Linked DNA regions of Homo sapiens: all the other regions are linked to region 2. The links are contacts of gene promoters, found by promoter capture Hi-C in blood cells and fetal thymus (Javierre and others, 2016). All regions are on one chromosome and are shown on one strand. Each heading gives the region's core, a stretch centred on a gene start or on the middle of the fragment in contact. The rest is flanking DNA. Distances are from core to core; before and after follow the strand shown.

What was found. Contacts are between HindIII fragments. The CHiCAGO score rates a contact against its expected background, and 5 or more counts as called.
Region 1: a contact is called between a fragment that was not itself captured here and the fragment with the promoter of BMP10 in region 2, in 3 of 17 cell types (total CD8 T cells, naive CD8 T cells and naive CD4 T cells). The highest score is 5.9, in total CD8 T cells.
Region 3: a contact is called between a fragment that was not itself captured here and the fragment with the promoter of BMP10 in region 2, in 7 of 17 cell types (naive B cells, total CD4 T cells, naive CD4 T cells and 4 more). The highest score is 9.6, in naive B cells.
Region 4: a fragment that was not itself captured here is called in contact with the fragment with the promoter of BMP10 in region 2 in 10 of 17 cell types (activated CD4 T cells, naive CD4 T cells, M1 macrophages and 7 more); the score reaches 7.9 in activated CD4 T cells.
Region 5: a fragment that was not itself captured here is called in contact with the fragment with the promoter of BMP10 in region 2 in 7 of 17 cell types (M2 macrophages, naive B cells, total CD4 T cells and 4 more); the score reaches 6.6 in M2 macrophages.
Region 6: a contact is called between a fragment that was not itself captured here and the fragment with the promoter of BMP10 in region 2, in 15 of 17 cell types (activated CD4 T cells, naive CD4 T cells, naive B cells and 12 more). The highest score is 14.6, in activated CD4 T cells.
Region 7: a fragment that was not itself captured here is called in contact with the fragment with the promoter of BMP10 in region 2 in 4 of 17 cell types (naive CD8 T cells, total B cells, total CD4 T cells and 1 more); the score reaches 6.9 in naive CD8 T cells.

What each region holds. Positions count from the first base shown.
Region 1 is chr2:68,578,905-68,581,919 of GRCh38, forward strand. APLF (aprataxin and PNKP like factor) reads left to right here. Exons shown (of 10, transcript NM_173545.3): 10 at 1-1,258. Among named protein-coding and RNA genes, the nearest start is that of PROKR1, 63 kb to the right of the region's middle. The HindIII fragment of the contact is 600 bases long and covers 1,375-1,974 here.
Region 2 is chr2:68,869,895-68,872,907 of GRCh38, forward strand. It overlaps BMP10 (bone morphogenetic protein 10), which reads right to left and starts at 1,503. Exons shown (of 2, transcript NM_014482.3): 1 at 1,131-1,503. The coding sequence starts at 1,464. RefSeq lists a silencer at 1,319-1,479. The HindIII fragment of the contact is 2,140 bases long and covers 471-2,610 here.
Region 3 is chr2:68,503,872-68,506,717 of GRCh38, forward strand. All of the region lies in intron 3 of APLF (aprataxin and PNKP like factor), which reads left to right. Among named protein-coding and RNA genes, the nearest start is that of APLF, 38 kb to the left of the region's middle. The HindIII fragment of the contact is 2,210 bases long and covers 437-2,646 here.
Region 4 is chr2:68,451,382-68,454,393 of GRCh38, forward strand. No RefSeq gene overlaps it. Among named protein-coding and RNA genes, the nearest start is that of FBXO48, 14 kb to the right of the region's middle. The HindIII fragment of the contact is 539 bases long and covers 1,421-1,959 here.
Region 5 is chr2:68,469,947-68,472,646 of GRCh38, forward strand. The region is part of intron 1 of APLF (aprataxin and PNKP like factor); the gene reads left to right. Among named protein-coding and RNA genes, the nearest start is that of APLF, 3.7 kb to the left of the region's middle. The HindIII fragment of the contact is 2,738 bases long and covers 1-2,676 here.
Region 6 is chr2:68,487,436-68,490,208 of GRCh38, forward strand. APLF (aprataxin and PNKP like factor) reads left to right here. Exons shown (of 10, transcript NM_173545.3): 2 at 2,755-2,773. Among named protein-coding and RNA genes, the nearest start is that of APLF, 21 kb to the left of the region's middle. The HindIII fragment of the contact is 1,449 bases long and covers 582-2,030 here.
Region 7 is chr2:68,544,993-68,547,740 of GRCh38, forward strand. APLF (aprataxin and PNKP like factor) reads left to right here. Exons shown (of 10, transcript NM_173545.3): 8 at 195-320. Among named protein-coding and RNA genes, the nearest start is that of APLF, 79 kb to the left of the region's middle. The HindIII fragment of the contact is 203 bases long and covers 1,288-1,490 here.

The DNA.
Region 1 (3,015 bases), core at 425-2,924, 290 kb before region 2:
ACTTATTCTCCAGTTTTACAAAGTATCTTTCTGTATTTCTGTTCTAAAACTACTTTAAGCCCTATAATGCTCTTCATATTACGTGACTTTGAATTGTTAAAATGTAGTTTAGAATCTTTAATAACAGTTGGGTTGTGTACACAGAGCAGGAGATATTTATTGAAATCATAAATCACTAAGCCAAAAGAATCTTTGTTAAATGCTATTATTTTCTACTCTAAAGGAACCTAAAAATTTATATCTTAAAAGATCAAAACATATTTATAATAATATTTTCTCATTGCTTTAAAATATATCTCCCAGTAATTATACAATATTTAATATTTACTTAAACTGGAACAAGAATAAGATAAACATTTCTCTAGACTATAACCTATTATTCTGATTTTTATCTCTTATTGTTATTTGGGAACTATTTTTCCCCTTATAATGTCCCTTTAGCCTTGGTAGTATAACAAATCTACGAATGTAATATTTAACTTATTCTCATCCCTGCCACTAACTTAATCCTTGAAGTGTTACATAATCTACTCCTAGGTATATACCCAGAGGAATTGAAAACATTTCCACATAAAAACTGTACACAATGTCAATAGAAGCATTATTCTTAACAGCCAAAAAGTATAAACACCCAAAGTCTATCAACTATCAACTGGGTGAATGGATAAGCAAAACGTGGTATATCTGTGCAATGGAATATTATTTGGTCATAAAAAGGAATAAAGTACTGATACATGCTACAAGATAGATGAACCTTGAAGGCAAGTAAAAGAAGCCAGACACAAAAGGCCACATACTGTATGAACTCATTTATATGAAATTTCCAAAACAGGCAAATCCATAAAGACAGAAAGCAAATTTGTGGTTGCCAGGGACTTGGGGAGGAAGAATGGGGAGTGACTGCTAATGAGTATAGGATTTCCTTTTGAGTGATAAAAATGTTCTAAGATTAGATGGCAGTGATGGTTGCACAACTCTGTAAATATATTACAAACAATGCATTGTACACTTTCAAAGGGTAGATTTCATTGCACGTGAACTATATATTTCAATAAATCTGTCACAAAAAAGTAATGCAAAGGGTAATACCAGTCTTTTAGAAGGAAAAAAATATTTAATATCAAAGGATATTCTTCGTAGTAATGTAATAGTTCATGGTAGCTGCTTTTAACGATACAGTTTTAATGCAACTTTCATAATCATCCTGAAGACACTTTTGAGTATAACTATTGTATAAATAAATGTATAGCTTAATTGACTGAAGTGTAATGAAAATGAAAGTGTAATTGGACTGTGTTTAGATCTGTGTTTTCCAAAACAGAGGGAAAACCGGTAACATTAGGCTGTCAGTGGTCTCAAGAGCACCATTAACAAAGCTTGATTTTTTAAATTAATTGCTGTTCTATACAGTGGATAAGAGCCAATTCTCCCTGTCATGGTGTTCCTGGAACTGAAACTATATCCCAGCCTCCTCTGTCATGGTAAAAATTATCATATATACATTTCTCACCTATGTGCCTAATTTTAAAAGCAAATATTTTCTGGCTAAACTTTTGAGGGGGGATGGGTTTTCTAGGACCCTGGGAAACTGGAGACCTGAAGAGTTTTGGGGGACACTTGAACACTGACTTTGGTGTTTTCCCCTGGTTGAGGATGGCCCTATTGATACTGAGTTTCTAGAACTAGAGGATCCTAAACATTCATTGTAATGAAAGCAGATAGATTGTGAGCATAATTACTCCAGAATGTTGATGTAAAGCTGAGAGTAAATGGGTAGTTTCTTACAACTAATTGTTCAGTGTCACCAGCACACCTCACTGAGGGGGAAACTGTCCACCAGCACGCTGCATCCAGCCCTGCTCTGTGAGACCACCTCATTCCCATTCAGTCTCTTTGTTGGCCAGGAGTCCATAATGGTGTGTGCATGTGGGGGAGGGGGATCTTTTCCTGCCAATCTACAAACCTAGCCTACAAAGCTTCACCTCTACAATATGTACTGAAAGTAAAGTGATAAGGAATAATTATGATTGAGATTATTATTGGCCACCCTAATATAATGTACATAATAAACTTTATCATCATAAACAACCACATTTATACTCTGTTGTGCCCAAGATACTGTCTTAGGTGTCAGCAATTCAAAGAATAACATAGAGTCCCTATTTTCAATGTGCTTACTCTCTATTCTGGACAATAGGATATTTATTCATTCAGTGACAGTGACTACTAAATACCATGAAAGATACAAAAAAGAAAAAGAAATGGTATCTACAGTAAAAGATTTTACAAAGGCAATGAGGCAAGCATTCAAATAACATAGTGGATAGAATGGGACCAGTCAGAGAAGGAGAAGCTAGAGTGTAACAGAAATACCCCTCTGGCTGTATACTGAAGTATATACAGTCTCAGTCATGAGAAAATCTTGGTGTGATTGAGTTGCAGGATGAACTAACAGATTTTTTTATGGAACAAAATTTTTACTTGAAAGAATGACTGGCAGACATATTATGATTATTCAAACTTCAGTATTTGGCAGATGTTTTATCAAACATGAACTAAATGAGCCCTGTTTTCAAGGAAAACAACCAACAGTATTTGCTGTAATGCTGAAATTTGAGCTTTTAAGCAAAAATCAGAATTTTGGAAGAACTTGGATTCATCACCATTAGCTTGATAGCTTTTCAAAACTCTAAAAACTATTCTGATGATATTGTAGGTGATATGATATAATAAAATGTATCAATATTTGGAAGAGCTGCAAAACTTAGTAAGCCAACATTTTCCACATAACCAGTGTATGATGTTATAAAACCAGGCATGGGTAAGAGATCCAGTCAAAGTGTAAGATGAAGCAATGGACTTAATGTAACAGAGTCTGTTAAGTTCATTAATATGGTTTCAGATTCCATATTTCAACTAATCTTCCAGAAACTGCAATTTGTCTATTTTTGTGACATCAAGAAGAATATCCACCATTACCTGAAAAGCCTATTAAAATACTCCTTCCTTTTCAAC
Region 2 (3,013 bases), core at 253-2,752:
TAAATGGAGTGCTTTCTTATCTGTAACCTCCTTTGAGTCACTCAACTATGTTATGTAGGTATTATTACTCCCACTTTATAGATGAGGAAATTGAGGCTCTGAGGCATCAGCTAATTATTCACAACCACTAAGCCAACTAGCTCTCAAAATCCCAAATCCTGAGCTATTTCTTCACTATTACCTTTCTTCTTTCAAGAACATCTGGCCAATATTAACGGGAAGCTTCTTTTATACCTGGTTAGTGACTATAAAAGCATAACTGGCAAAAATTAAATTAGTTCCTTTGGACCTTCAGCTTCTACTATAGATATCTAGATATCAGGGGTTTTTTTTCCTACTAGGACCATATTAACCAAAAAACAAACAAACAAACAAACAAACAAAAACATTAACTTGCTAGCTCATTAGATTTAGTTACCAAATTTAAAGACCTAAGAGAAGAAAACACACTTTTCCCACCAATAATTCAAAGCTTGTACGTTGCTCTTTATAAAGACGGAAATGATGAGCTGGATGATTAATGGGCCATCTACACTTCCTGGAAACTGTAAACAGTGCTTTAAGGATGTACATGACACATCAAACAACACAGCCTTAGGAAGAATCTTTAAAATATATTTCCATCCTGTTTGAACATTTCTTAAATAAGGTCACAAAATAAAAACTTATCAAAAGTTTGAACAAAACACAAATCACAATTTGATGTTTTTTGACTGTTTTTACCCTTTTTATTCTAAGTAGAAGTTGAGAAATTTTTTAGTTAATTAAAAGCCCATATGGCAATCAAGGCCTATTTGGAAAATGACAAAGGTACGGCAGTAGACCAACATTAATTCTTTGTATTACTTGGTGTTCAAATTAACATTTTTTAAAAGGACCCAATTATGATGTCAAATTGATAGATGTTTTGTGGCTTTGGATTAAAAGATGTTTGTAAGTATTTTTCGAGGTTCCTGAAATGACTATATAATTGGTATAGAACAAAATGTGCCTTGTTTTTGTGTATCCATATGTATTTAACATCCTTATATAGATGTATTTACCCTTACCTATATCATTCCCATGCATTGTAAATTTACTTATTGTGTCTTGAAAAAAATCCTAGCAAAATTTCATCAGCAAAAACTTACCTTCATTCTTGAAACTCCTAATGATGTTGGCAGAGGGCATGGAGGTCCGATCTGTTGCAAATTTGTTGTAGAGTTCCAACATGTACTCTGGTGGGTCCACCTTGGCTGAATCCTGCGTGGGGATGTCAGAGAGGTTTAGTGTCTTAAGAAACTCATCCTTCATGCTCTGGAGCAGTGTGTTAAAGTCGACACCGTCTTGCTCTGAGAAAACATCACCAAAGAGGGACATATCTTCTTCCAGAGGAGACTGCTCTAGGTTCATGATGGGGCTGCCAGAAACCAAGTAAGCTGCCAGGCAGAAAAGAGCGCACAGTGTCAGGACCAGAGAGCCCATGACTCCGCTCGAGCTCCTAGGCCAAGCCAGGAAGGTTTAGCTTCCCTGGGCTCTAAGTGGCAGTTTTATCTTGTGGAACGTAAATGTCTCCTGTCACTGGAGACAAGTTTGGAAACTCTTCCTCTCTCTCTCCCTCCCCCTACCACTCTTCCTCTCCCCCTAAAAGTCAGGTTGCAGTAATTGGATAACAAAATCCCCTATAGGGGCCTAGCCTTTCTTATCTCCCTAGTGTAAACTTGTGCACCAGAATTTGTTTCTATCTTGCAATCCCTATTTCTTTTAATGAGCATTTTGTAAACATTTCCACATTCTGACACTGGTTGAGAGATAGGACAATTTTCTCTTTGCAAAGGCTCTGCTTCTCTTCCCTTCAATTCACTTCCTTTCAGCAGGAATGCCTAAATTCTGTTTTTATGGGGCTTAGTTTCACACATGCATATAATAGGTATAAGAATCAACATAATGCACATCAATGGTGATACATGTTAATTTGAGAGGTAGGGCTCAGATAAACACTTGTGAAGACAGACCAAATATCCAAACTTTCCAAGTTTAAGTTAATAGCTATAAATGAATTATATAAATTTTTAGAAGTGTACCTTTTTAGAAACAGGAAAGTATAAACTTCATGATTGACAGGCTTTTTCCTACCTATTTGATCTGGCTAAAATAGCATTTGAAAAATAGGGCAAGTGCTTAGTTATACTGGCAACTAGAATTTATTAGATGCTTCCTACAAACAGGCATTGTACTGAGTGCTTTACACCTATCATCAAGTGTGCTCCTGTAATAACCGTATCATTATCTCCATCACATATATGGGTCAGTGAAGTGCCATAGCTTGCCAGAGGCCACAAAGTTGCAAAGTGATGGGGCCACAATTTCAACCAAGGCAGCCTGATTCTTATGAAGAATAAAACAGTCACACTTTTAAACCACTCTTCTACCAGACTAGGGCATGGGCAATAATGCTGAGAGGCCAACACGTCCCCAGATCAGCCTGGAGGCAGGAGGCAGGCAGAAATTTGTAGCTGGATGTGGACCTCAGGTCCTCCATCTGTGCAATGAGTTGTTAATATAACCAACATCTCTGCGAAATTCATCCTTCTGACTCAATCAAAATTGTCATCAAGAGGCTCCAGCAAAAGCTTGGTGTGATGGTTAATACTTACTGTCAACTTGATTGGATTGCAGGATGCAAAGTATTGATCCCGGGTGTGTCTGTGAGGGTGTTGCCAAAGGAGATTAACATTTGAATCAGTGGGCTGGGAAAGGTAGACCCACCCTTAATCTAGCTAGGCACCATCTAATCAGCCGCCAGCACGGTTAGAATATAAAGCAGGCAGAAAAACGTGAAAAGACGAGACTGGCCTAGACTTTCAGCCTATCTTTCTCCCATGCTGGATGCTTCCTGTCCTTGAATATGGGACTCCAAGTTCTTCAGTCGGGGAACTTGGACTGGCTCTCCTCGATCCTTAGCTTGCAGACAGCCTATTGTGGGACCTTGTGATCGTGTGAGTTAATACTTAATAAACTCAGAAATATATCT
Region 3 (2,846 bases), core at 292-2,791, 370 kb before region 2:
ATGGCCAAAATAAAATCAGTAAAGCTATGGGCTGGTTTGGTGAAAAGATTAATAAAATTGGTGAAACTGTAGTAAGGCTTACTGAGAAAAAAGTGAGAAAACACAAATTATCAGTATCAACAGTAGAAGAGGGGATATCATTACTGCTACTACAGACCTTAGAAGAATAATGAGGAAATATTACGTAAAACTTTATGCCAATAAATTTGGCAGTTAAAATGAATGGGTACATTTCTTAAAAAACAAAACTGATGCAGGAAAAATAGAAATCTGATGAATTCTATATTCATTTTAAAAATTGAATTCATAATTTAAGTATTTCCCATAAGGATCTTCACTAATGAATTCTATTAAACTTACAAGGAAGAAATAATGCCAATATTATTCTTTTTTCTCAAAAAATAAAAGAAGATATACTTCCCAACTCATTTTATGAAGCTTCTGTAATTTAGAAACTAAAATCAGACAAGATTTTACAAAAAACCCTCAAAACTACAGACCAATATTCCTCATAATAAAGTATTTACAAATCAAATCCAGCAATATGTAAAAAGGATAATACTCTATTACCAAGTGGGGCTTGTCCAAGGGATACAAGGTTAGTTTATCGTATAAAAATCGAAGCAATTCACCATAACAGACTAAAGAACTATCATTTTAATAGATGCTCAAAAATAATTTTGACAAAATTCAACACCTCTTCATGATTTTTAAAAGTTTTGAGAAAACAAGAAAAAGAAGGAAACTTTTTTCCTACAAAAAACCTATTAGTGAAATGTTGAAAGTTCTTCCCCTAAGATTGGGAATACAACAAAGATAAAATATATCAGATTTGAAAGGAAGAAGTAAAACTGTGTTTATTTGCAGATGACATGATTTGTATTTAGAAAATCCTTAGTAATCTACCAAAAAGAAAAGCAAGCCACAAAAGTGTCTATTATATGATTACATTTATATTAAGTTCTGTAATAAGTAAACTAATCTGTTAAATAGAAATGTAATCAATGGTTGTTTCCAAGGGGATTGACTAGTAAGAAGCTACAAAGGAGCTTTTTGTTTGGCTTTGTTTCAGCTTTTAAACAAATATGGACATATTCTGTGTCTTGTTAAGGGTGCAGATTATGTGGGTGTACGCATTTGTCAAAACTAATCAAATTTCACACTTCAGATATGTGCATTTCATATATAAATTATATCTAAAAATGCTTAAATGTAAGTGGAAAAAAATGTCAGGAAGTTGCTTTTTAGTTAAATGAAATTCATTAATCATTGCTTACTACTTTAAAGTACATGTCTTTTTCTCTTATCATACATGTATGAAGCGTGCTATTTAAACTAGCTGTTGAAATGAGACATGTAAAGAACTGATTTTTTTGTTACAATAAACTTTCATAATAGAATTACATACTTTTTTCAAAAATTAGGAAAATGTGCATCCTTATGAAACACAATATGGTCATTACCTGATAACTTATTTAAGCTATTATATGTCTATTTAAATTTCATTTATATTGATTCAAATTAGCTTATTCCCTTAGTGTGAAAGACCAGTGTCTTTAGGGCAAGTGTCACACTTTAAATTTATCAGGTTATGGGATTAGTGAATTTTGAATTTTTTCGTATTGATGAAACTGAAAATAAACCCACTTTCACAGCACTGTACTTTTCTCAGGCTATTTAAACCTTGGGTTCTGTCATTTGCTAGAAGGGCTCACAGAACTCAGGAACAGTTTACTTACTAGATTACGGATTTATTACAAGTGCTATATTACAGGATACAAATTAACAGCCAGATGAGAAGATACATAGGGTGAGGTCTGGAAGGATCCCCAGCACAGGAGCTTCTGTTCCAGTGGAGTGTTGGGGTACACCACTCTCCCAGCACATGGACATGTTCTTGTTCACCAACCTGGAAGTCCTCTGAACTTTGTCTTTTTGGGTTTTTATGGAGGCTTCATTACAAAGGCATGATTGAGTAAATCATTGACCAGTATGATTAAGTCAATCTCCAGCCCCTTTTCCCTCCCTGGTGGTGAGGCTGGGAGTTCCTACCCTCTAATCATGATTGGTTTTCCTAACAACCAGCCCTTCATCTTTAGAGGCTTTCCAAAAGTCACCTCATTAACATACATTCAGGTGTGGTTGAAAGGGGTATATTGTGAATAACAAAAGACGCTCCTTTCACCTGTTTCAGAGCTCTAGCCAGGAACCAGAAGTGAAGACCAAAATATGTATTTCTTACTATATCATACCATCACAGGCACATTCTTGTGGTTTCTGCCATTAGCTAGGTCCTGTAGCTTCTTAGTGAATATTTAGTTTCCTATTGAAGCAAGGACAGTACTTCTGTAGTCAGGTAATGATGAGTTAACCCTAGTTATTAGATTAGAAGCCATGAGGGGAGGTGGGGGCAGATCTTGAATTGCAGTATCATCATGAGAGATGTCTACCCGGGGGAGGCAGCTGCCTGATTTCCAGAGAGGGAGAGTCCACTGTCTGCTAGCAAGGGGAAGTGGACTATGTATTAGATAGGAAGCATTGAAATACACTTCTAGACGTTTCTTGATATCGTTGGGGTTTTCCTGTTTTTGAACTAGCTCTGTTTTGCAGGGTCAACCACATAAAAACACTGCTTACTGTTGTACAAGCTTTACATGTATGAACTTTTTATTCTCCATAATAATCTCTATGAGGACTAGGTATTGTTAATATCCCTATATGACAGATGAAGAAATTGGGACACAGAAGGTTTAAGACTTGCCCAAGGTCACAGCTTAATACATGGCAGAGGTGGGATCCAAACTCAAGCCAGCTGTTTCCAGAGTTGATGCTCTTACTAACTACCC
Region 4 (3,012 bases), core at 440-2,939, 420 kb before region 2:
ATAATTTTATATTATATATAATATGTATATTATATATAATTTTATATTATATATAATATGTATATTATATATAATTTTATATTATATATAAAATGTATATTATATATAATTTTATATTATATATAATATGTATATTATATATAATTTTATATTATATATAATATGTATATTATATATAATTTTATATTATATATAAAATGTATATTATATATAATTTTATATTATATATAAAATGTATATTATATATATTATATATAAAATGTATATTATATATATTATATATAAAATGTATATTATATATATTATATATAAAATGTATATTATATATATTATATATAAAATGTATATTATGTATATTATATATAATGTATATTATGTATATTATATATAATGTATATTATATATAATATATATTATATATAATGTATATTATATAATATATATTATATATTATAATATATAATATACATTATATATTACATATTATATATAATATATTATATATTATATATTACATATTATATATAATATATTATATATTATATTAAATATATATTTTATATATTATATATTATATATTATATAAAATATATATATTATATATTATATAAAATATATATATATTATATTATATATTATATTAAATATATATTTTATATATAATATATATAATATATAATATATAAAATATATATTATATATTATATATAAATTATATATATTATATATAAAATATATAATATATATTATATATAAATATACATATTATAGATATCTATTCTTTATCCACTCTTCTTGGTTGATGGACATTTAGGTGTTTTTTTAAAATGTAGTATAAACCAGTAGTTCCTAACAAGAGGGATTTTCCCCCAGGAGACATTTGGCAATGTCTGGCGACATTTTTGGTTGCCAGCACTTGGGAAGTGGTGCTACTGGCATCTAATGAATAGAGGCCAGCGGTGCTGCTAAACATTCTACAGTGTATACGACAGCACCCCTGCCCCTCCCCCAAACAAAGAATTATCCAGCCCAGAATGTTAATAGTGATAAAGTTTAGGGACCTGGTATAGACAGAGATAAAGCACACATGGTTAAAGTTAACAATTGGTTAATCTAGGTGATGATGCCATATTCTAGACTTTGAAATTTTTTGTAAGAGTGAAAACTTTCAAAATAAAACATTTAGGGAGAAAGCACGTTTAAAAATATATAATAAAAGTCTGAGAGAGAAAAAAAAAAGTTGAACTGATGAAAAAAGTAGGCCATACACAGGAAAACAATGGCAAAAGCAGTCCTTTTTATTTTCTTCACTAACCAATGAGAATAAAGACAGGAAATTGTGCTCAATCTACTTGTTAGGCAACAAAAAAACACAACCACAGCAATAAGTGGGGGAGATTCTCACGTGTGATTTTTAGAAAGCTTCTTTTATGGTTTTACATATTTTCTATCAGGATTTCATTGTGTGACAAATGGACTGTATAATTTTGTCATATTAAAAGTAAATCAAAATGAGCAAACTGGGAAACCAGCAGCTGGGTTTTTTTCCCCTACAAGGCACAGAAGACCCATAGCAGAAAAGTAGGCCTCAGAAAATGATTATTAAAAATTTCTTTTGGGCCAGAACAGTGGTTCATGCTTGTAATTCCAGCACTTTGGGAGGTTGAGGGGAGAGGATTGCTTGAGCTCAGGAGTTCGAGGCCAGCCTGGGCAACATAGTGAGACCCAGTCTCTAAAAATAAATAACTAAATTAATTAATTAAGAAAAATTTTTTCTTGAGCAGTTAATGTTTATGATAATACAGTATGATTGGTGTGGTACTTGTAAAACTGCAGTTTTATCTTTTTTTATTTCCATCCGGCCCTGACTGGGTAAGGACAAGGAGGTATTGGAAAATGCAAACAGGTTCATGAAAAAAGTCAGTTTTACTTGTGGTAGAACTCAATATAAGGATGTCAAGCTTTTATTAGAAACCCAACCCGCATGCCTTGTTTATTACCTTCTTCTGTCTCAGCTGTTCTTTATAGTTTTTACTCTTTCTTCCTTTTCCAGCATTATTTTATTGTGTAGAGTAATACTAGAATGGGTTGTTTTTTTTTTGTAATACATTCCGCTGTATTTTCCATGCCCAGTAATTCTTATTTCTCTGCAGCTCTCTGCCTGGAAAGACAGGCATCCAGTGCTTTGTGGGTCTGGTAGGTACAGCCGAGAATAAAGAAGTCAGAACTCAGCTTTGAATTTCAAAAGACTTTTTTCAAGCATAGAAGACTCAGAAGTCTTAACTGCTAGGCTTTCAACTGAGAAACGAAAATAAAATCCAAAGGTCCCCCCTGCAACTGACTAAAAGGACTCCCCTCTTGGCTAAGGAGATCCTAGAGAAATCTTAAAAGCTGAATTCCCAGCCATGATGGATTGGGAGGTCAGACATGCCCTGTTATACTCCCTCCCTTGCTACTTGCCATTATACTTCCACTCCTAAGTGTTAAACAGAAACAGGCCCTTTCTGAAGACTTGCTGGACTCTTCTTCCTTTTTGCAGTTTGACACAACAACTGACCATCATTCCTTCCTGATAAGAGGCCACTAACCATGGACTGGTTCTGGCCGGTTTACAGAAGCTGCACACAGGATGCTTCTGTGTCCTCTGTTTCAGCTTTTGACGTATAGAGCCTAATTTTAATACATTTAAATGTTAAGTTTCCATCCTAAAGTGAACATAGGATGTAGGTAACATACATGTTAGCTTGCTGTGCATGAGTGCACTCCCCTTTTGTGAATATTCATAGCTCCTCCTATAGCCTGTTAAATGTATATACTTAGCTGACCCTTTCAGCCTAAATTCCTGTCTTACCCTTCCCTCCCTAGAAGTACCTGCTTCTGGTTTCTGCCAGAAGCTACCCTTCCCAGGCTGTGGGATGGCCAGCCTGCAGGCTGCAACCCTTTATAAGAAATAAAGCTCTCCTTTCCACATTCATGAACCTCGTGATTCTTCAGTTGGCACAACAAAATGAT
Region 5 (2,700 bases), core at 58-2,557, 400 kb before region 2:
TCTTGGTAGTAAAACAGTTTGACAATGAGAATGGTTTTGTATTTTTATGGTGGTAGGAAAACACAACAGAGAAACCTGTCACAGAGAACAAAGGACAATGAAATTTAATCTTTCTTGTTCCCTTTGCTTTCATGTGAGTCATCAGAGAACCCCAGGTCTTTGTTTACTAGATTTTGATTCTGCTCCATGATTGGCATCAGTTAGAAGGTTTTACAGCAGGATTAATCTTCAGAGAACTTGAGTTAAAACAGCCAATCCAAAAGATTACATATTGTGTGATTCCATTTATATAACATCATTGAAATTGCGAAATTGCAAAATTTCAAAAATGGAGAACAGATTAGTGGTTGCCAAAGGTTAAAAAATTAGGCAGCAGGGCAGAAGGGAATGGATATGGCTATAAAATAGCAACATGAGGGATATTTGTGGTGATAGAAATGTGCTTTGTCTGGACTGTGTCAGTATCAATATCTTAGGTTGATATATTGTACTATAGTTTTGTAAGACGTTACCATTAGGGGAAACTGGATAAATGGTACAAGAGATATTTCTATATTATATCTTTCAACTACATGTGAATCTACCATTATCTTAAGAAATTTAATTTAAAAGGGTTTTACAGTACGACATGTCAAGCACTGTTAGGCCAAAGTATTTGCTTTATGGGTTTTAATTAAAGCTGTTACACTCTTAAATGAAATCTACTATTTCTGATTTCAGATTTTTCTTATTTTGTTTTGACAGCAGGGATTATATGACACATTTCTTTATGATCTATTTTCCTCCTAGGAAACAAGATAGCAAAAGATATCTAGTGATACTTTCTCAATGTAGATGTAATTAAATTGACTGCTTTGATTAAAAGGAGAAGAGTCCTCAGTTGGGGGAACAGGGAAGGTCATAGGCTTCAGTATAGACTCTTCAGGTGGCATCAGTTCACCACTTCTAAGAATGTTGTAAATGTTCTACAAAGTTTACACAAAGTAACCATCCCCTGACCTGGCAGCTCTATACTTTTAACTGCTTGTTGCAGAATCCTGGCTGTCCTGGAATGCTGTTCCTACCTGCTCCAACATAGGTTTCTTCCCTTACGTTTCTTTTATTTCTAGATTTGCCCTTCCCTCATTTTATTATTTAGCCTACAACCAGTGCCTAGCACACAGTAGGCCTTTAACACGTGATTTCTTCCTTCCATTTCGGCATCTCAGCCTCTCATTCACTCTACCCTCAAAAAGAGCCTAATTGTGACTTAGATATGAAAAAGGGTTATCATTGAGTTTTGAAGTGAATTTAAATATAGTAAAGATGCAGTCCTACCAACTGCTAAATCTTGAGTAGCATTCATAATGAATTAAGTTTTAACATTTTTCCTGTTTTGTTGATTGATAATTCGCTAAATTCAGGAAATAGCTGATAAATATATACTATGGTTGGATGGGAGGGAGTATAGGAGAAATAAAGGTGAATGAGAAACAAGTCTTTGCTCTCAAGAAACTTATAGTTTTGTAGGGTTAAGAGACAAATAAACAAGTATTAGTAACTAAATAAGGCTACAACCTCACATGGGGACTGGCGCCAGGCTGACACTTGGAGTAAGCGAAGTGGGAGGGAAGAAGAAAAACAACACAGGGACAGTGATAAATGACAACAGTTCTGCCTCAGTGTTGGGAAGGCCACAAGGAGAGGGTCTCTATGCAATCCCTGCTACTTTCCCCTATTCCCAGTTGGTAACAGTGTCATATTGTTTTTTTAAGAATAGTAAGAAATTTGAATTTTTAGATATAATCACTGATTTTTAAAAGGTCACATTTTTATTAAAAGTTTTGGTTAAATACCATGAGTCTGTTGATGAAGAGTTAAATTCTATAAAATATTTCAAGAGATTTATTCTGAGCCAAATATGAGTGACCATGGCCCGTGACACAGCCCTCAGGAGGTCCTGAGAGCATGTTCCCAAGATGGTCAGGGTACAGCTTGGTTTTTATATATTTTAGGGAGGCATGAGACATCAATCAAATACATTTAAGAAATACATTGGTTTGGTTCAGAAAGGCAGGACAACCCAAAGCAGGGGCTTCCAGGCTATAGGTAAATTTAAACATTTTCTGGTTGACAATTAGTTGAGTTTATCTCAAGACCTAAGATCAAAGGAAATGTTCAGGTTAAGATAAAGGATTGTGGAGACGAAGTTTTATTTTGCAGAGCTCTCAGATAGCGGACTTCAGAGATAGCAGGTTGTAAAATGTTTCTTATGAGACCTGAAAGAGTGCCTGGCTCTTAATTGATTATCTCCTGGATCTGGAAAGGAAGGAAGGAAAACAAAGGGGAAAGGGAATTCTCTATAGAATGTGGGTTTTTCCCACAAGAGACTTTGCAGGACAGTTCCAAGGTATGGCAAAGAAATATATTTTAGGGTAAAACATTTTGATTTTCTTCCTTGTTATGCCTGAGTCAGACTGGAAAGTAAGTCACGTTATACAGGGTTAAATAAAACTCATCTGATGAGAATTTATGGTTTGTAGGGCATGACTCCCCAGACCCCTTAGAAAGGAATTTGGGCAAGATAAAAAAAAATAATAATCAGAGCTTAGTCCTCAAGCTAGACAGAATGATGTCACAGGGTACAGAGAGGTATAAGAAGGAACCTGAAGTTAAGAGGTGGGATCAGGGAAAGAAAGCTTCATGAACTTGGTAGCATGT
Region 6 (2,773 bases), core at 56-2,555, 380 kb before region 2:
TTGCTTAAACTCTCTGTACTTCCATTTTCTCACCTATGAAGTGAAGTATAATAATAGTATCTTCACAGATTTTGTGAAGACTGAAAAAGATGATACATGACAAGTCTAGAATGGTGCTTTGGTGTTGATAATTGATTGTTATTACAGTTGATGTATTAATAAATAATAAAAATGTGTTGGATATTCACTCTGTATAAGGAGCAGTGATAGGCTGTTAAATAAAGCAGATCATCAGATCTTTAGGATAATCTGTTTGTCACTTGCTCCCCACCCCTCTCCGTATATCAATCGTGACATTAAAATGTTTTAATGATAATTTATTAAACCTTTATGCTTCCCATTGAGAAAGTGCAAATGGTTATTTTATTGTGTATTCACTATTTAGGGTTTTACTTTAAAAGGAACACTATAAATGTCTGAGTGATGTTAATTTCAAAGATTGTTTATAGCATTCTTTTTGTATTCTATAAAGACACATAGCTTGTAATGAAATTACACTGTTGTGGAGTTATGTGTCCACTAGAGGTCACATTATACTTTTATATTACTTAAAATGTCTTTTATCTTCGTAGTGTCAGTGAAGCTTACTTCAAAGAAAGACAGAGATAGGAAAAGTTCATGTATTGCTTCCTGAAAAAATACAGTTTAAAAAAGGAAAGAAAGAAATTTAAGATGGACTGTTAAAGGAACCAGCTTTATATGCCATAGTTTTATATTTGATAGCTTATTACTCTGTTGGTTAGAAAATTGGTTCGTAGTATGGAAGTAACAATGAGATTTTGGTACCCAAGTCAGAAATAGGAACTGCTTACTCTCAGCCGCATTTTTTGAAATTACTTTTGAATGATTACATGTAGGTACAGTCATGTATAAATGTGTTCTACATTTATTATCTTTTTTTTTTTTTTTTTTTGAGGCAGGGTCTCACCGTGTCCCCCAGGCTGGCATGCAGTGGCACGATCATGGCTCATTGCAACCTTGACCTCCTGGGTTCAAGCAATCTTCATACCTCAGCCTCCCAAGTATTAATATTTGGGACTATAGGCACATGCCCTCTGTCCAGCTAATTTTTTACTTTATGTAGAGATGGGGGTCTCACTGTGTTGCCCAGGCTAGTCTTGAATTCCTGGGCTCAAGGAGTCTTCCCACTTCAGCCTCCCAAAGTGCTGGGATTGCAGCCACCACACCCTGCCTATTACCTATTTTTATTAAAAGGAGTGTGGATTTGGAGTGCTGCCTACTTGGAGAGTGACCTACCCAAGTTACCTAAATTCTCTGGACTTTCAATTTCTATGTAAAGTGTTAATAATAGCTATGGCAATGTTATGTTGAATCACAACATTTAAGTGAAAGTTCTGTGCAAATGATGCAATGAGTCATCAGATAACTGCTGTTGTTTTTAGCCTACTAAGGTACAATCTGATATACCTAATGCTAAATGACGAGTTATTGGGTACAGCACACCAGCATGGCACATGTATACATATGTAACTAACCTGCACATTGTGCACATGTACCCTAAAACTTAAAGTATAATAATAAAAAAAAAGGTACAATCTGGGAAAAAGAAAGGAATCTTTAAATTTTTAGCCTCTTTTTTTCTGAAACAATAGATTATTAGTTTGTACTTACTTCTTGGATAGCCATTGTGGCTAACAATAGATTGTGAAAAATTCATTCATGTGATACTCATTCCGATGCTTGATATTACTGTCTATATGTTACAGCCTTAAGTGTGGAACAGCTATCTGGTTAAAAAAATGAGTACTGACTCCTGGCAGTTTCACATTTTTTGTGGAACTAATAGGTTTAATTGAGTTTATGTGTTGGTATGGTCTATTTTTTACTGATAATTTTGGTCCTTATGCGGATAATGCCAACATTCAAGTGCTGAATATCAAGGTTACCAAGAGATGGGTCAGGTAGTTATGGTGTTATTGAAGTTGGTGCTTAACATGTTTTCATTATCTATCAATCAACCACAAATAAAAAAGGCAATCTTAACTATTGTATTTACAGTGAAAAGGGAAAGCTTTGATTGGCACTGTCAGCATTTAACATGCAAACAATTTTTGAACTTTGGTATGTGGAAATGATTGTGAGCCTAAGTAGAACACTGTTGGCTCAAAACAGGAAGCAAATAGATATTTTTAAAAAATGCTAATTTATTTCTTACTGAAAATGTTTGGTTTTCACTATTCCCCTTCTTGCCTTCCTGAACTCTTAACTGCTGCTGATGGCCCCAGAGTTTGCATGCAGTTCTGCCTGATCTGGGTCTCTTTGACCCCAAAGCCTATAGTCAGACCCTTTTACACTTACCAGATCCTCGAGCATGGGATCTCTTCCTTTTAAAACCTTTATCATCATGACATACTATATGTTTCTTGTATTTGAAATGTTTTCTGGTAAGTACATATTATATACAGACTTTTCGTATTTTATGAATTTTCTTGGTAAGAATCCCCAGTAGATGTCTGTCATGAATGGAAACTATCATGCAAGGTTTTGGGATCCGTTAGATTCTAGGCTTGAGGCTCTGTTGTTGACTCTTCCATGACTTTGGGCAGGTTTTTTTAATCTCATTATTTGTTAAATGAGGACAATCATTTCAATATACAGTTGTTGAATGAATGATATATTTCATATCTAGTCTACTGATTTCAGAAACATCGCCAAGGGTTTCGTTTGCCTTTTTGTTTTGTTGCTTTTTAAGGAGGTGGCTATTCTTAATCTTTTAATTTTTTTACTGTATAGATAACAGACAAGAGAGTAT
Region 7 (2,748 bases), core at 139-2,638, 330 kb before region 2:
TACTGAGTTTATGTCATCAACTTTATGTCATCAATTTAGCATGTTGATGTAATCTGCGCTTATGTCATCAATGTAGCATGTTGGTTTATGTTCAAGGATAGCCAGATGTGGATTGTCTGGTTTCCTGCTATATCCACTAAAAATCTAGAATATCCTATTTTTTTTTTCTGACAGTATATTTGTCGCCCTCCTAGGAAGAATCCTGTTCATTTTCAACATTTTAGCCATCCTGGTGATAGTGATTATGGAGGTGTACAAATCGTGGGCCAAGATGAGACTGATGACCGGCCTGAATGTCCCTATGGACCATCCTGTTATAGGTATAGAAACTGAATGTTTGGCTGCACTCCTTTTCTTTCTTATCTCTGTTACTTATCTAGGAGAAACTGACAGCAGCTTGTTATCTCAAGCCTTTTAATTTTCATTTTTAAACTTCTGTAGATTACAGGTTTTCATGTTGGTAATAGGTAGGATGATATTTCTTTTAGCTAATTCTGAATTACTGAAGTTACACATCTACGAGTGCCTGAAATTTTTCCTTATTTCCAACTTTCTGTAATGCAAATTAGATCACTTAAAAGCTGTTGATGCTACCCCAATATACACTTAATTCACTCTGTATGTCCTAGGTGTGACATATAAATCTATTTGGGATGTTATCTCTGCATCCCTCTGCTTCCTCAACTTTTACTACTCCACTATTCTTGCCAACACAGAAAGTCCAATCCTAAAGGAAGAGTAAGAATACTTCTCCTCTCAGTTTTCATGGCATCTTGTCCTTGTCCGTATCATGCACAGAGTAGGATTTATCTCATGAGATTATGTTTGTTTCTTTATCAGAACATCTTTTCCTACAGGCAGCAAGTATCTTGACAGCAAGGACTCTCATCTTTGTATCTTGCAACTTTGCTTAATAGATGAATGAACTTGAAATGAAACAAACTATCAAAGAAAAAAGTAGTGATTTCAGCTTTACAGAGCTTTAATTCCAGACAGCCATCTTTCTTAGATAATTTTAAATACAGATTGCTGAACCTACTGGGCTATTTGAAGTTGTTTCTATTTCTGTGATTGTGGTTTTCAATGAGAAGGCAAAGTAAGTTTCTAGGACCAGAAAGGAGAATGACTTATACTTTTTTTGAAAGGTAAGTGTTCATTATAATCAACTTTACCAATAAACTTGAAAATTTTTGGAGAAATTAACAAATTCCTAGAAAAATACAACTTTAAGAAACAGATACAATCAAAAATTGAGTTAATATAAGAGAAATTGAATATATAATTTAAAGCTTTCCACAAAGAAGTGATAGATCTGTTTGGTTTTAATGGCAGGTTCTAACAAACATTTAAAGAAGAAGCACTTCATTTTTACACAGACTACTCCAAAGAAAGTAAAAGAGGGTGTATTTCCCAATTCATGATGTGAGACCAGCACAAGTTTGATACCAAAACCCAGCAAGAATAATACAAGAATGAAAAATTATAGGATAAGCTTACTTTTGAACATAGTTGTAAATATCCTGAGGGGAGAAAAGTTATGAGAATCAAGTGATAAATAAAAAGGAAAATATAATATGACCAAATAGGGTCTATCTAAGGAATGCATGTTTTAATGTTAAAAAATAAATTCATTTACCATGTCATCAGAATAAGTAGAAAAGCCATCTCCATAGATGATTGGAAAGAAAAAAACCTGACAAACCAAAATCAGCATTCATTTATGAAAAAAACTTGTTATAAAGTAAGAATAGAAGGGAACTTCTTTAATATCAAAAAGAATATCTACAAAAAATTTATAGCAAATATTATACTTAAAATATTAAAAATTTCCTTTCTGAAATCAGAACTGAGACAAGAATGCCTGTTATTACCACTTCAGTTCATCATTATGTGGCGATTCAAGACAGTATACTAAGACAAGAAAAGGAAAATGGATAAGGATTGCAAAGGAAGAAATAAAACTTTGTGTTAACAGATGGTATTATTGTATATGCAGTAAATACAAAGTGGCCCACTGATGAGTTATAAATTTAGTAAGTGCTTAGGATGCTTACTGGATACAAAAATCAATATATAAAACCAATTGTATTTGTATATTCCAGCATTAACCGGTAAGAAAATAAAATTTTTTAAAGATTATAACATCAAAAAGTAAAGAGTCCTTAGGAATAAATATAAAAGGCGTAGAAACCTCTATGAAGAAAACTATAAAACTTTAAATGTAAAAATGAGAAAATGTTTTTCAGAAAGACCTAAATAATTATGAAGATCAAAATGTTCATGATTGAATTATTCAGTAGTGTCAAAATACCAGTTTTCCTCAAATGGATTTGTATACAAACTGATTCAAAATCATATTAGCTTTTATAAAGAAATTTACAATGTGATTCTAAAATGTATATGGATTACAAAGGATAAAAATAGCCATGACAATCGTACATAATGAAGAATAGGTGGCAGGATGTGTTATACTTTATAGTTACTAAAGCAGTGTGGTATGGGCACAAAGATAAAGTAACATGACCAGAACAGAATGGTACTTCAAAATAGGCTTATATATGTAAGGTGACATATTTATGAAAAGGGACGTTGCAGGTATTGAGAAAAATGAATTTTTTCAATTAATTATAAGGGGATAAGTAGATATTCATCTGAAGAAAAAATAAAATTTGACCCTTATATCACACCATAGTCAAAAACTGAATTCCAGATGACTCATAGTACTAAATGTAAAAAACAAAATAATAT